3 separate regions of the Homo sapiens genome follow, and all the other regions are linked to region 2. The links are contacts of gene promoters, found by promoter capture Hi-C in blood cells and fetal thymus (Javierre and others, 2016). All regions are on one chromosome and are shown on one strand. The core of a region is centred on a gene start or on the middle of the fragment in contact, and the rest is flanking DNA. Distances in the headings are between cores, read along the strand shown.

Region 1 (4,391 bases), core at 1,782-4,281, 1.1 Mb before region 2:
AACTGGTGGGTCTCGATTCCTTACCCTGAGGCCGCTACAACAAGGCAGTGGGGCGCCTTCCTCATGAGAGAGGACCAGAGACCCACCCCCCCACCCCCGGAGGAGAATGGCTCCCTGTACAGGCCACCGCCATTGTTACAAGTAAAATGTTTATTTAGAAACAGAATGCTTGCTCCTAGGTACTGCAAGGAAAAACCAGCATTTAGACAAAAAGTTTTTTCAGCAAGGCAATTTTACTTTCTGCAGAAAGGGTGCTCCTCACAGATGAAACAATGGTGACAGCACACCCGAACAAAGGAGGGAAGCAGTTTTTATCCCTTATGCAGCTTGTGTCCTGTCTCCATTGGCTGGAGCTGGACCTCACAATTTAAATTAAACCCGACTGGCTAATAACTTAAAACTTTCCTATATAGGGAAAGGCAATAGAGAACAAAGGAAAAGAAGAAGTTGCTTGCAAAAAGACTTAGAAAAGTAATAATATTTCCAAATAAGGAAGGGGCATAGGCTGCAAGCTGGAACGTGCCTGTGAGCATGTCCAGCACAAATATCTTGGTTAAAGTACAAGGACATAGAATATACTTATTCCCTTATATCTAACAGCTACATAGGATAGGGCTTAATGAAGAGTCATTAGCACAGAGCAGAGGAGGCTTGAAGGAAGTTAGTCTTTAAAAGAAACTATTATTTCTAACACTTATGATTTATTCTTTAACAAGAAAGGAAATTTCGAAAAGGAAACTTTTTACTTTCTACAGGCTGATGAGTGCAGCTAATCCTCATTATTATAAGCATCACTATTATCATCACTTGCAAGAGCCATGTGACAATATTTAGATGATTCTGGGTTCTTTTAAAGTGCATACATACTCAGGATTCCTTTGGGAGGATGCAATTTCATTTATATGAAAAACTGTCACTACCACAGTCAGCTCTAATAATATTTGATATCACCTGGTAATAAAGGTTTGTCGGCTGGGTGCGGTGGCTCACGCAGCACTTTGGGAGGCCAAGGCGGGCAGATCACGAGGTCTGGAGTTCGAGACCAGCCTGGCCAGTATGGTGAAACTCCATCTCTACTAAAAACACAAAAATTAGCTGGGCATGGGGGTGGGCACCTGCAGTCCCAGCTACTTGGGAGGCTGGGGCAGAAGAATTGCTTGAACCTGGGAGGCGGAGGTTGCAGTGAGCTGAGATCATGCCACTGCACTCCAGCCAGGGCAACAGAGCGAGACTCCGTCTCAAAAAAAAAAAAAAATAGTAAATAAAAAATAAAGGTTTGTCACCATATACTCAAGAGTACTTCTGTTATTCAAATCTCCTAACTGGGAGTTACAAATATCTCTGACTCTGCTCTTGTAGCTGTCAGAGCATAAAATGCCCTTCCCACTCTTTCCTCACTTCCAGACTCCAAAGCCTCCTCCTCAAAGTTTGGCCCCTCTACTTTGGACTACTGTTTTCTTCCCAGTTACTGCGCACTGACAGTACTTTTGTTCTCTCTTTCGGCAATTCACCATACACTTTCTAGTTTATTTATCTGCATAAAACTTAGTTCTCAACAAGACTATAACTGCCTTATGAACAGGAATCAACAGTTGAGAATCTTCAGAGTCTCCTATAACATCATGTAAGAGCTCACTAAATGTTTGATTTAAATAACTAGGCTTAAGAGTAATAGGCTGGGCATGGTGGCTCATGCCTGTAATCCCAGCTCTTTGGAAGGCCGAGGCGGGAGGATCACGAGGTCAGATCGAGGCCATCCTGGCTAACACGGTGAAACCCGTCTCTTCTAAAAATACGAAAACAAAAAATTAGCAGGGAGTGGTGGCCAGTGCCTGTAGTCCCAACTACTCGGGAGGCTGAGGCAGGAGAACGGTGTGAACCCAGGAGGCGGAGCTTGCAGTAAGCCAAGATCTCAACAGTGCTAAATGCATACATGGATTATCTTACTAAATTTTCATAACTCTATAGAGGTAAGTGCTATCATTATTTTCTCCATCATAGAGGAAGAAAGTGAAGCTCAGAATAACTTGCTCAAGGTCATACAGGCCTGGGCAAACCCAGGGCCTGAATCCAGCAAAGCTCTTAACTACCTCAGAACACTGCACAGTTCGAGCCCTGCAATACTACAGTCTATGAATGATTTCGATTTCACTAAGTTAGAAATTTGAATTTCAACAGAGACATTTTAGCTAAAAGGTAAAATTTTAAAGAGGATGAATTAAGAGAATTTCCCACAGACATCTTTATAATAAAATGAGGAGAAAAGCCTCCCATTTCCTATTTATGAAAGTGATATTAAGGTGTGTGTCACAATTTCATCAAGAAGTGGCTTATGACAATACAGCTTTGGTTTAGGTATTAAAATAGGACTCTTTTCTGCCCATAGGAGGACATGGAAATGAAGGATAGATGTGATAAATGTCAATTCAGAGCTCTGCAAAATGCCAGACTCAATTCTTGTTTTAAAATATCAGAGCCAGGGCTCTTGTTTCACCCTTGATTCTTCACACAAAACACCACCATCCTCTGACCTCTTCACACAGAGCAAGCTTTACCCCACTACCTAAAGGGGAGTGCTGATCCACATGGTCTCCCCATCCACGCTAGAAATTGATCCCAAACACCAACCGCTGCATAGACGTCGGCGACTTTGGTCTGCACCCCCCGAACTTGGTGATACCTCATCAAGCCAAACCCCTCCCCAACATCCAAAATGCCCAGACCAGCATCCGAAAGCTGGTCTCCTATACAAAGCAGAATCCCTGCCTACAAAGCAGTTTCCCACCTCCGACTCCTCCCCACGGCGAACAGCCCTTCTGGATCCAACCAACCCACCAACCCCAATAGGGCCCAGCACCCAGAGGGTCCACAATCCAGAGAAGGAGCTACAAGCCCTGTACTTGCAAGCCTCGAACCCCCAACTCCAACTGACCTCCCCTCTGCCAGAGCAAGACCACGAGTACCCGCCGAGAGCGGACCTGGCTGGCTACACAAAGCCAGGCGCCCGACCAGAGGGATCCTCCGGGACGTCCTCCGCCACCGGGGCGTCCCCGCCCAGCCCCGCCCGGCGCCCGGCGCTCACCAGCTCTCCTCCCCCTCCTCCTAGCCTGACAGACGCTCCAGGTCGTCTAGCAAGCCGCCCTCCCCCGCCGCCAGCAAGAAGGTGGCGTCTCGCAGCTCCTCGTTATTCGTCCGCCTCGGGTCCATCCGGCCCCGCCGCCCGACTTTGCGCTGAGACCCAAGGGGAAGCCCCGAGGGGACCCCGCGCCGTAGGAGGGAGTGGAGGAGCCGGCGAACCGCGATGGAGCCGGGGCCCAGCACAGCGCGAGCGGCTCCTCGGCTGTTCGTGCTGCTTCCCCAGCTTCTTCACCGGCACCTGCAGCTTCCGCACCTCCTGGTCCGCGTTCACGTTAGAGTTAACGTCCTCCATCCCGGCCCCGCTGCCTCCGCCGCCCGCGGCCCTCTCGCTCTCGCAGCAACAAGGGAAGAGCCGGAGGAAAGAGGCGTCCACGCCGCTCACTCCAGCCGAGGCCCCCGCATATAGCAGGGCCAGGCCCCGTCGCCAGGGTTCCCCCAGCGCGGGTCCCGAAGCACCGCTGGCCACAGATGAACCGCCTCCTCAGCGCAGGTCCGGGATTCGGGGAGGCAGCGCCAATATCCGGTCTCTGCAGCCATCTTCCCTCCGTCCCTCCGCCCACCGAGGGTCGGCCCTGTAGGTGACCTCAGAGCGTCGGGGATGGGCGTGGCCCCGTCGGGCGCTAAGAAGACCTAGCGCAGAGAGGACCGCCGAGCTCCCGACGGGGCGGGGCCAGGTGTGTGAGGGGCGGGGATTGGACCCGGAGGGGCGTGTCTGGACTGCCGGCGGAAGTGGAACGCGGCCTGACCTGCGACGGAAAGCCACTGCAAGCCCGGAGGCGAACAGAAGGCATTCCGCGAGCCGGGCTGAGTTGGTGAACACGGTCCTCGTTCACCCCGCCTATTGGTCTGGGCGTGTGGGGTATTCTCCACCCACTTATACGGCGTGTGGGACCGACGGGCCCGTCCTGCCCGGCTCCGGTCCGGATCTCGAGTAGGCGCTCAATGGGATTCGGGGAGACGTAGTTTACTTTGTTCAGCAAATATTTAACCGATGCCTATTTTAATGGGAGATTGTTTCCGCTGGCGGGAGCCTCAGAGACCGCCTGTGTCCTTTAAGAAACCCGAATTTCAGACAGTTAAGAGAGGTCTAAGGTCAAAATAATAATCATAATTTCTTCTTACTGGCCAGATACTATGCTAAGCCCTTTTTAATTTTATTATTATTATATTTTGTCACCGAGGCTGGAGTGCAATGGCCCGATCTTGGCTCTGCAACCTCCGCCTCCCGGTTTAAAGCGATTCTCCTGCCTCAG
Region 2 (4,102 bases), core at 1,349-3,848:
CCAACTAGAATGCAGTCTCCGTGGTAGTTATAGGAGGGCAAGAGAGTGGAGAATTACAGATTGGCTTTTCATTGTCTCAGCCTAGAAGTAACCTGCATAGCTTCCCCTTACATTTCATTGGTCAGACAGAACCACATGGCCCTGCCTACCTACAAATATTGTATCTGTGAAGCCTGATTATCTCTGCTATAGGTTTTTTACTCTGTGCTCTCACTGTGCCAATAGTGAAATTGTGGCTGTTTCTTGTGAATCTACTCCTATCCCTGGACTCTAAAGAGTGGGGGCCTCATATTACAAATTATGTAACTTTGGTGCCTAGCACAAGACTGGTGCCCAGTGATTGTGGAGTGATTGAACAATCGGACAAAGTAAAGGTGAACCTAAAGAAAGGTGGAGGCAGTGCCTGGGAGGATCAGTTTAGGAGCTTCCCTATCTGAAAAATGAAGCAGGGAAGGCCGAGAAAACAATGCTATCAGTTTTAAAAATGAAACCAAACCTCACTGAATAGAGTGGACAGTCTGTGTGTAACACAACTCATTGTCGGGGTGGGTTTCCATCAACAACAAAACAGACTGCATATGTAGAAGAAAGGGAAAATGGGACCCCCAGGGGCACTACGTGGCTTTGGAAAAAAAATCTGATCTTAGAGCAGCCTCAAGAATAAACTAGGCACAGAACAGTCTGACTTCCCTCTCATAAGTTTTATTTATTTATTTATTTATTTTTTTTTGAGACGGAGTCTCCCTCTGTCGCCCAGGCTGCAGTGCAGTGGCGCGATCTCCGCTCACTGCAAGCTCCGCCTCCCGGGTTCATGCCATTCTCCTGCCTCAGCCTCCCGAGTAGCTGGGACTACAGGCGCCCGCCACCATGCCCGGCTAATTTTTTGCATTTTTAGTAGAGACGGGGTTTCACTGTGTTAGCCAGGATGGTCTTGATCTCCTGACCTCGTGATGCGCCTGCCTTGGCCTCCCAAAGTGCTGGGATTACAGGTGTGAGCCATCGCTTTCGGCCCCCTCTCATAAGTTTTTGGAGCTTAAGAAGGACTAAGGTGCAATCCCTGGGTCACCATGGAAAAACCTTGACTTATCCAGCTGTTTTTTTTTTCTCTTGTAGAAGAAAAAAAGGAATTAACCCTACATAATTACTTCCTATTTCAAGTCAGTTTTATTGACCTCGGTTTGCAAACTAAGTGGGCTCATCCGGATTCTAAAGATATTTAAGGATACTTTCAGTTATAAGTAGGATGACTATCCATCCAGGTTTGAACCTGCTGTTCATGGTTAATTTATTAATAGCATGTCTCACAGTTCATTCTCAGAAATGCTTGGATATGGCCGATAAATTGAAACGTCATCCTAGTTAAAAGTAACGTTTTTAACTGGCTGGAGAAAGGTGACTTGGGGTTCTAGGAAGGGACAGAGGAACAAACATTCTGTTGGCTCAGCACGCCCAGCCTGTGTTGGGCTGGGCACCTTAGAGGACCTGTTTCAGGACTGCGTGACTGGCGTTTTGCTGGGAGTAGCCCAGGTGTTTTAACCACTTCCTGAAGAACAAGGTTCGGTAAAAAGAGGCTGGGGCGTAGGCGTGGGTTCCTGTCCCTGCCATATGCTGTCTTCCTGATCTTCGGAAGTCACTTCAAGCACCTGATCATCAGTTTCCTTATCTGTAAAACTGGAGTAGTAATGTTTCCCTCCAAACGCCGTCGTATTTAATTCATTTAACAGCAGCCACTATTATTCCATTATACAGACGAATAAATAGACGTTATGAGAGGGCAAAGTGCGCTGATCAGGGCTCATAATAATTCTAACAGCTACTGTTTAGGAACCAAGTACTCAAGCAGCCTGTGCACAATCTCTAATTTCTAGAAGAGAAGACGGATACTTGGAAAGAGAACTTGAACAATGTCATGGAACTCATAAATGGCTTGAGAAAGGCTGATCCTAGGAAATCTGCTTCAGAACCCGCGCTCTCACTGCATAAGGCGTATTTCAAGGGAGGAACGGGCAGGCATCTAGCACCACTCTTCGGACTCCCCATCCAGTGCTCTTTTCCTCTTTTCGTTACACTGCACTGCTGGTCGGAAACCCATCGTGGAAGTGGATCAAACACAACAAAGGGCAGGGGGCGTTGGAAAACCGGGCGAAGTCGCGCAGACCGAGACGACCCACCGGCCCCAGCAAATCACCAGGGGCCGAAATCCAGTGTCCTCCTCCCTTCAGCCCAGAAGCCAGGTCACCTTTTAGACTTGCTCTCTTGGCGGGGAGGAAGCGTGGAGCCCCCTGGTCCGGCTAAGAGCTTACGTAAGGCCCGCGGGCGGCTGCGCCCCGGTCTCCCATGGGTGTGCGCAGAGCCCCCGGGCCGGAGCAGGCCTTCCCCTGTCCGCTCCCCCAGTCTCTCGGCCCAGGACCACGGGGGAGTTCAGGACCACCGGCCCCACGCCGGCAGCGTCCGCGTTGGGCGGCGGCGTCCCCCGCAGCCACCCAGCTTCCCGGGGGAGGAGCAGCGCATCGCGCAAGCATCCGGGAGCGGCGGAGGGGGCGGGAGGAAGGGCGAGAGGAGGAAGCGGGATTTAAACGAAAGGCGGTGACGCCACACAAAAGATTTCTATAGGCTCCAGGGAGGTTACGGCCGAGGCGGCGGCGGCGGCGAGCCCGGGGGCGAGGCGCGGACGGGAACAGGAAAAGCCTCCGGCAGCCCCTGCGGGCGGCGGCGCAGCCACGGCCGCGCTCCGAGGTGAAGCCGCGCGCGGAGAGGAAGCGGGTGTTTTCCCCTCTGCCTTTCGGCCCCCGCCCTTCCTTTCAGTTTCTGCCCGCTCGCTCGGAAGTTGGCGGTTGACAAAAATGGCAGGAGCCGGGGCCCGGGCCGGTTGCCGCAGCGCCGCGGGGACCTTCTGAGTTGGCCCGGTGGCAGGGAGACTCGTGCAGGGGCGTCCGATGCGCGGGGCCCGGGGCCTCGGGAGAGCTCAGCTGCTGCGGGCCCCAGACGAGGCGACAGGGATGGACTTGCGTAGACAGCCAGCGCCGGGCCGCCGGGCGCGCGGTCTGGGAGGGCGTGCCGCCGCGGCGCCGGGCCGCGCTCTGTGAACCGGCGAGGCGGGAAGGGGCCGCCGTGGTGCTCGGCACGCCCGGGCGTGTGGCGGGCGGGCGAGAGCTTGAGCGCGATCCGGGCGGCCGCTGTGCGCAATCAGTGCAGGCTCCCGCCCGACTCTGACTCGGCGCGGCCGCGACAGTGCCGGCCACACCCTCTGCCCCGCTGCCGCCGGCGCCGCTTCCCAAGAGCTGGAGGCAGGAGATGCGCCCGGGGCGGCCGCGCGTCCCAGAGAGCCAGCCCCGGCCGCCGTCGCGGGGAAGTGCCGCCTGGTGGGGTCACGGCGCCTGAAGCCCACGTGCGCCGCCGAGCCCGAGGTGGCCTCGAGCGCGGCGGCTGACAGCACAGCCCGCCTGAGCTGCCTCCCGCGCTCCTCCCCGAGGAAAGGATTTTGATTTCAAAGAAAGGAAGGAAGGAAGGACAACTCCCAGCTTCCCCGTCCCGCCCTCCCCGCTCCGAGGGCCGCGCCAGGCCATGCCCAAGAAGGCGGCGGCGGCGGCGAACCAGCAGAAGGGACTTTCCTGGCAGCCCGGCGACGAGGAGCGCGGACAGTGAGTTTGCTCTGCCCCGGTTCATGGTTCCTGCAAGCCCTCTAGGAGGCCGAAAGCTGCAGCCCCTCCCCTTGCCCCGAAGAGCCTTCCGCGTTCTCTCGCCCTCGGGCCCACCCCGCGCCGCCCGGGCTCCCGCCGCCGCAGCCCAGTGCCCTCTGCCCGCGGCGGTGGATGGCATGATGGTGCGGGGAAGGCACCGCGGCCTTGGCCAGCTGAGTCGCGACGGCCGCCGGGGCGGCGGCAGTGGCCGCGGCAGCGGCGGTGGTAGCGGGCTCCCCAGCGGCATGCCAGTGCCCCCCGGGCGCGATGGCTAGCGGCAGCGCCGGGAAGCCCACTGGCGAGGCGGCTTCTCCGGCTCCTGCGAGCGCCATCGGCGGGGCCAGCTCGCAGCCGCGGAAGAGGCTGGTATCCGTCTGCGACCACTGCAAGGGCAAGATGCAGCTGGTGGCTGACCTGCTGCT
Region 3 (4,397 bases), core at 1,499-3,998, 1.1 Mb after region 2:
GGACGTCCATACCATGGAAATAAAATAAAATGAGCAGTATGCATTAGCACATGATACCAGTCAGGCACAATGCTAAATACATGGACAACTTCTCATTTAACTCTCACACCATACCTGTAAGATATGTATTATCATTTCTGTTATATAAATTAACGTTTCTAAGATCACGTTTCTAGGAAGAATTGGAGCTAGCATTGGAATTCAGTGATTCCAGAATCCAGATTCCTGCTGACTTTCTCAAATAGAAATGTGCTCATAAAAAGACAGCCAGGACTACAAAAGGACTCAAAATCATCATATAAAATAAATAATTAACGGAACTATGACTTAGAGCTGCCTGCAGGCGGGGTGGCCCACCTCACTGCGCGCGCACGCGCGCGCGCGCGCACACACACACACACACAAACACACACACACTCCACTTAATTAGGAGACATCTGCCAAGGATGTGTGCACTGGCTGGATAGACAGGTGAATTTGGTGAGTGGTGACATTTTGAGTTTTCTTCAATTGGTCTGCTGACATTCAACTAGTCACTTAGCCTCTGAGCTTTGGTTTTCTCATCTGTAAAACAGGAATAATAGTTCCTACTTAGGTAAGTAACTCATATGGGCCCTTCTTTCCTGCCAGTGAGATGTAGATATGATCTAGTGAAATGAGGGTTTTCTTGTCAGCCTTCTTATAAAGCAGTAGAATATAGAGTGGAAAATATTTAAAATTGTTTCATCTTTACTAATACTTTATGTGATCACACCTGTTGTCATAACATTTTTTTAAAACAGCAAGAATTGCCTTTACGACCTAAAGAATTGTTGTGTCTCTATTAAACATCACCTTAAAAGTCAAGATGCTAATGCAATACAGCCACGATATTCTCACAAATAACTTTGAACTATCATCCTCTTTATTCTTATGATAAAATTATTTCTTTTCCATGCAATTTAATTAAAACAATAAAAATTATGTCAACAGTGCTGCTGAAATTTTAGCTAATAATAGAATCATTTTTATGTTCGTAAACTATATCTTATACAACTTTATTAAAATTATCCAGTTATCATTGTACTAAAATGTGTATGCAGCCATATAAAGAGTCACTGACCTTGAAAACCAAAGAAATAGCAGTTAAAGAATGCTTTCGGGTAAGCACAATTATTAGTAAACCTAGCCAAAGAGTTTAAAATATGAACCATGGTAAGTTCCACATCTCAGAAAAAAAGAAAGAAAATAGTCTGTAACCAGAAAACTTTAAGAAGCATTATAAATAGAAAGTATATAACGAAACACAGGGAAACATATGAAATCATTAAACAACCAAATAAATAAAACAAATACTAAGAAGTCAGTAATAATAGATATGAGGAGAAAATGCTCCGACTTGAAGGAGATTGATTCTCAGGTTGGATCTGCCCCACTTTGCAGAGGTTATGATCGTGGTCCCTGCAGCTAGACTGCCTGTGTTTCACTGTTCCTGGACCTGCCTTGTTTTTGTGACCTTGAGCAAGTGTCTCTTCTTTCTGTGCTCAGTTTCCTCATCTGTAAAAGAAGGGTGCTTATGGTACCTCCCTCGTTGCCGATACAGGAGACATTTGCAGATTCTAGTGGTGATGCTCACATAATTGATCAACTTTGAAAAAGAAGAAAAATGGCCAGGCACAGTGGCTCATGTTTGTAATTCTAGCACTCTGGGAGGCTGAGGTGGGTTTGAGCCCAGGAGTTCGAGACCAGCCTAGGCAACAAAGCAAGACCACTGTCTTTACAAAAAAAAAAAAAAAAAATTAGCTGGTCATGGTGGCGCACCCCTGTAATCACAGCTACTCAGGAGGCTGAGGTGGGAAGATGGCTTGAGCCCAAGAGGTTGAGGCTGTGGTGAGCTGTGATCACGCTGCTGCACTCCAGCCTGGGCAACAGAGCAAGACCTTGTTCCCTTCCCCAACCCACCCAAAATAAAAGGGAAAAACAAGAAAACTAAGCAGCCCTTGCGCTCTGCTGTATTAACTGTTATGCACCTGCAAGAATTAAAACGGTATATACTGGCATCAAAAGTTAACTAGATCATTAAAATTGACTTACAGGTTTAGAAAGAAACCCAAATTGAAAAAAAGTATTAACTATGTGACAAAGGTAGAAATGTAAATGAATGATGAGGGGAAAGATTATTCCAAAAATGATGCCGAGACAACTGGCTTTTTAGAAACATTATATTAGATTGATTTTTTTTTTTCTTAACCTCACAACAACACCGCAATAAATTCCAGGTGGGTTAAGGAATTAAGTTTCAAAAATGAAATCATAGAGAAGAATCAAATGGAATGTATGTGACTGCTTCTGTAATTGTGGAGTAGGGGAAGGGCTTTTTGAATATGGTCCTAATAGAGGAAATCATTTTGTGAAATACCTATATAAGGCCAGGCATGGTGGCTCACGTCTGTAATCCCAGCACTTTGGGAGGCCAAGGCGGGTGGATCATGAGGTCAAGAGATCGAGACCATCCTGGCCAACATGGTGAAACCCCATCTCTACTACAGATACAAAAATTAGCTGGGCGTGGTGGCACGTGTCTGTAGTCCCAGCTACTCGGGAGGCTGAGGCAGGAGAATCGCTTGAACCCGGGAGGCAGAGGTTGCAGTGAGCCAAGATAGCGCCACTGCACTCCAGCAACAGAATGAGAATCTGAAAAAACAAAACAACAACAAAAAAACACCTGGGAAACCACTGGTATCAATACACATAAACTTGGTGTGTATGTTTTAAAAGGAAATCAACTTGAACTAAAATAGTAAATGAATAATATTATAGTTAGTTCTCAGATTGAATAAGAAATATACATAATGGCCGAGTATGGTGGCTCACACTCCTAATCCCAGCACTTTGGGAGGCCGAGGCAGAAGGATCACTTGAGCCCAGGAGTTCGAGACCAGCCTGGGCGACATAGTGAGAGCTCATCTCTACAAATAAATGCAAAAATTAGCCAGGCATGGTGGTGCACATCTGTAGTCCCAGCTACTCAGGAGGCTGAAGTGGGAGAATTGCTTGAGCACAGGAGTTCGAGGCTACAGTGAGCTAGGATCACACCACTGCACTCTAGCCTGGGCAACAGAACAAGACTTTGTTGATAGATGATAGATAGATAGATAGATAGATAGATAGATAGATAGATAGATATAATGCAAGTATTTATGAGTGAGTGAATATGTCTTCATGCATGAAGTGAAAGGAGCAGGAAACAATTGTTAGTTTATAATATGCATGGAGCACTTATATTCTAGGAGTATGTTAGTTGCTCTCTTTTAATAATGTCAATAATCCAACTAAATAGGTACTATTGTTGTCTCTATTTTTGCCCTAAGGAAACAGTTTAGCTGGTAAGTGGCAGGCAGATCCATGCTGTCCAAAGTCAGGGTCCTCCCTCACTTTTCATCATCAAGGTACACTAACAGGTGAACTATAGAATTATATATGTACACACACGTGCACACACATGCCCACACATATAAATGCACAAATATACATATATATGTGTGTGTGTTCCTATTTGCCCACGTGGAATACATCTAAATATTCAAAAGTTATAAACCAAGCTATCAGCTGCTGAATAGGACTATTGCAGGAGGTTTGAACCTCTTACCCTGACAAATAGACCTTCATCATGACCTGAAAGGCCAGGTTAGAAGCTACAACTTCCAGCCTCCTGAGGTTCTGCCCTGAACCCTGGCCACACAGAGAGAGGCGGGCCTGGGTCAAGAGCCATGATTCACACCTCCCTTCATTCCCCCTACTGAACTGCAGGCTCCATCCCACAATGGGAGAGGGTCTTAGGCACATGTGTGCAGACACCACAGTTCCATCCATGGCTCATCCCCTACAAATAGTCACTCCTTGGACACCCCTTGGGCCTAGGGCATGCACACTTGTGGTGGAGACCTGCGTGAACTGTCGGGGAGAAGTCCCCACAGATGCGGAGGAAGGGGAAGGGGAGCATAGGCTTAAAGTCCCACCGGGACTTCATACTCTAGGAAGGGGCACAGCCTGAGGACAGCGACAGTGAGATCCTACAAAGCATGGGCCCAGAGCAGGGGCCTACAAATGACTTTTAACTATTTGAGTTAGAAAATAACGTAAAATAACTATTGAGACAAGGACTATTATCTCCATCTTATGTATGAGAAAAAGATCACAGGCAAACCTATATACTGTTGGGCAGGATGATTGTAAAAAAAAAAAAAAATCCTTCCACCTGGAACATTTCTTTTTTTCCGTTTTCCTTTCTCCCTTCTGTTCCTTCCTCCCTTCCTTTTCTCCATTTCTTCCTTCTTTCCACAGATATTTACAGCATGAGCTATGTGCCAGGTACTGTGTGGGCACTGGAGTTCAGGGTAATTAAGACAGAAAAGCTC

What was found. The method cuts DNA at HindIII sites, captures the fragments that hold promoters and counts their contacts. A CHiCAGO score of 5 or more calls a contact.
Region 1: a contact is called between the fragment with the promoter of ST20-MTHFS here and the fragment with the promoter of TLNRD1 in region 2, in 1 of 17 cell types (total CD4 T cells). The highest score is 7.1, in total CD4 T cells.
Region 3: a contact is called between a fragment that was not itself captured here and the fragment with the promoter of TLNRD1 in region 2, in 1 of 17 cell types (fetal thymus). The highest score is 6.0, in fetal thymus.

Annotation. Positions count from the first base shown.
Region 1 is chr15:79,920,061-79,924,451 of GRCh38, forward strand. ST20-MTHFS (ST20-MTHFS readthrough) reads right to left here and starts at 3,032. Exons shown (of 4, transcript NM_001199760.2): 1 at 2,979-3,032. ST20 (suppressor of tumorigenicity 20) reads right to left here and starts at 3,692. Exons shown (of 3, transcript NR_037653.2): 1 at 3,392-3,692. It overlaps ST20-AS1 (ST20 antisense RNA 1), which reads left to right and starts at 2,711. Exons shown (of 1, transcript NR_028330.1): 1 at 2,711-4,391. RefSeq lists silencers at 2,850-2,959, 2,980-3,049, 3,060-3,109, 3,730-3,879 and enhancers at 3,410-3,589, 4,020-4,069, 4,271-4,391. The HindIII fragment of the contact is 4,343 bases long and covers 2,548-4,391 here.
Region 2 is chr15:80,998,325-81,002,426 of GRCh38, forward strand. It overlaps TLNRD1 (talin rod domain containing 1), which reads left to right and starts at 2,599. Exons shown (of 1, transcript NM_022566.3): 1 at 2,599-4,102. The coding sequence starts at 3,948. It overlaps LOC128071545, which reads left to right and starts at 3,818. Exons shown (of 1, transcript NM_001414893.1): 1 at 3,818-3,955. The coding sequence starts at 3,818. The coding sequence ends at 3,955. RefSeq lists silencers at 2,227-2,916, 2,957-3,416, 3,767-3,896. The HindIII fragment of the contact is 6,287 bases long and covers 1-4,102 here.
Region 3 is chr15:82,052,582-82,056,978 of GRCh38, forward strand. No RefSeq gene overlaps it. Among named protein-coding and RNA genes, the nearest start is that of MEX3B, 8.8 kb to the left of the region's middle. The HindIII fragment of the contact is 7,919 bases long and covers 1-4,397 here.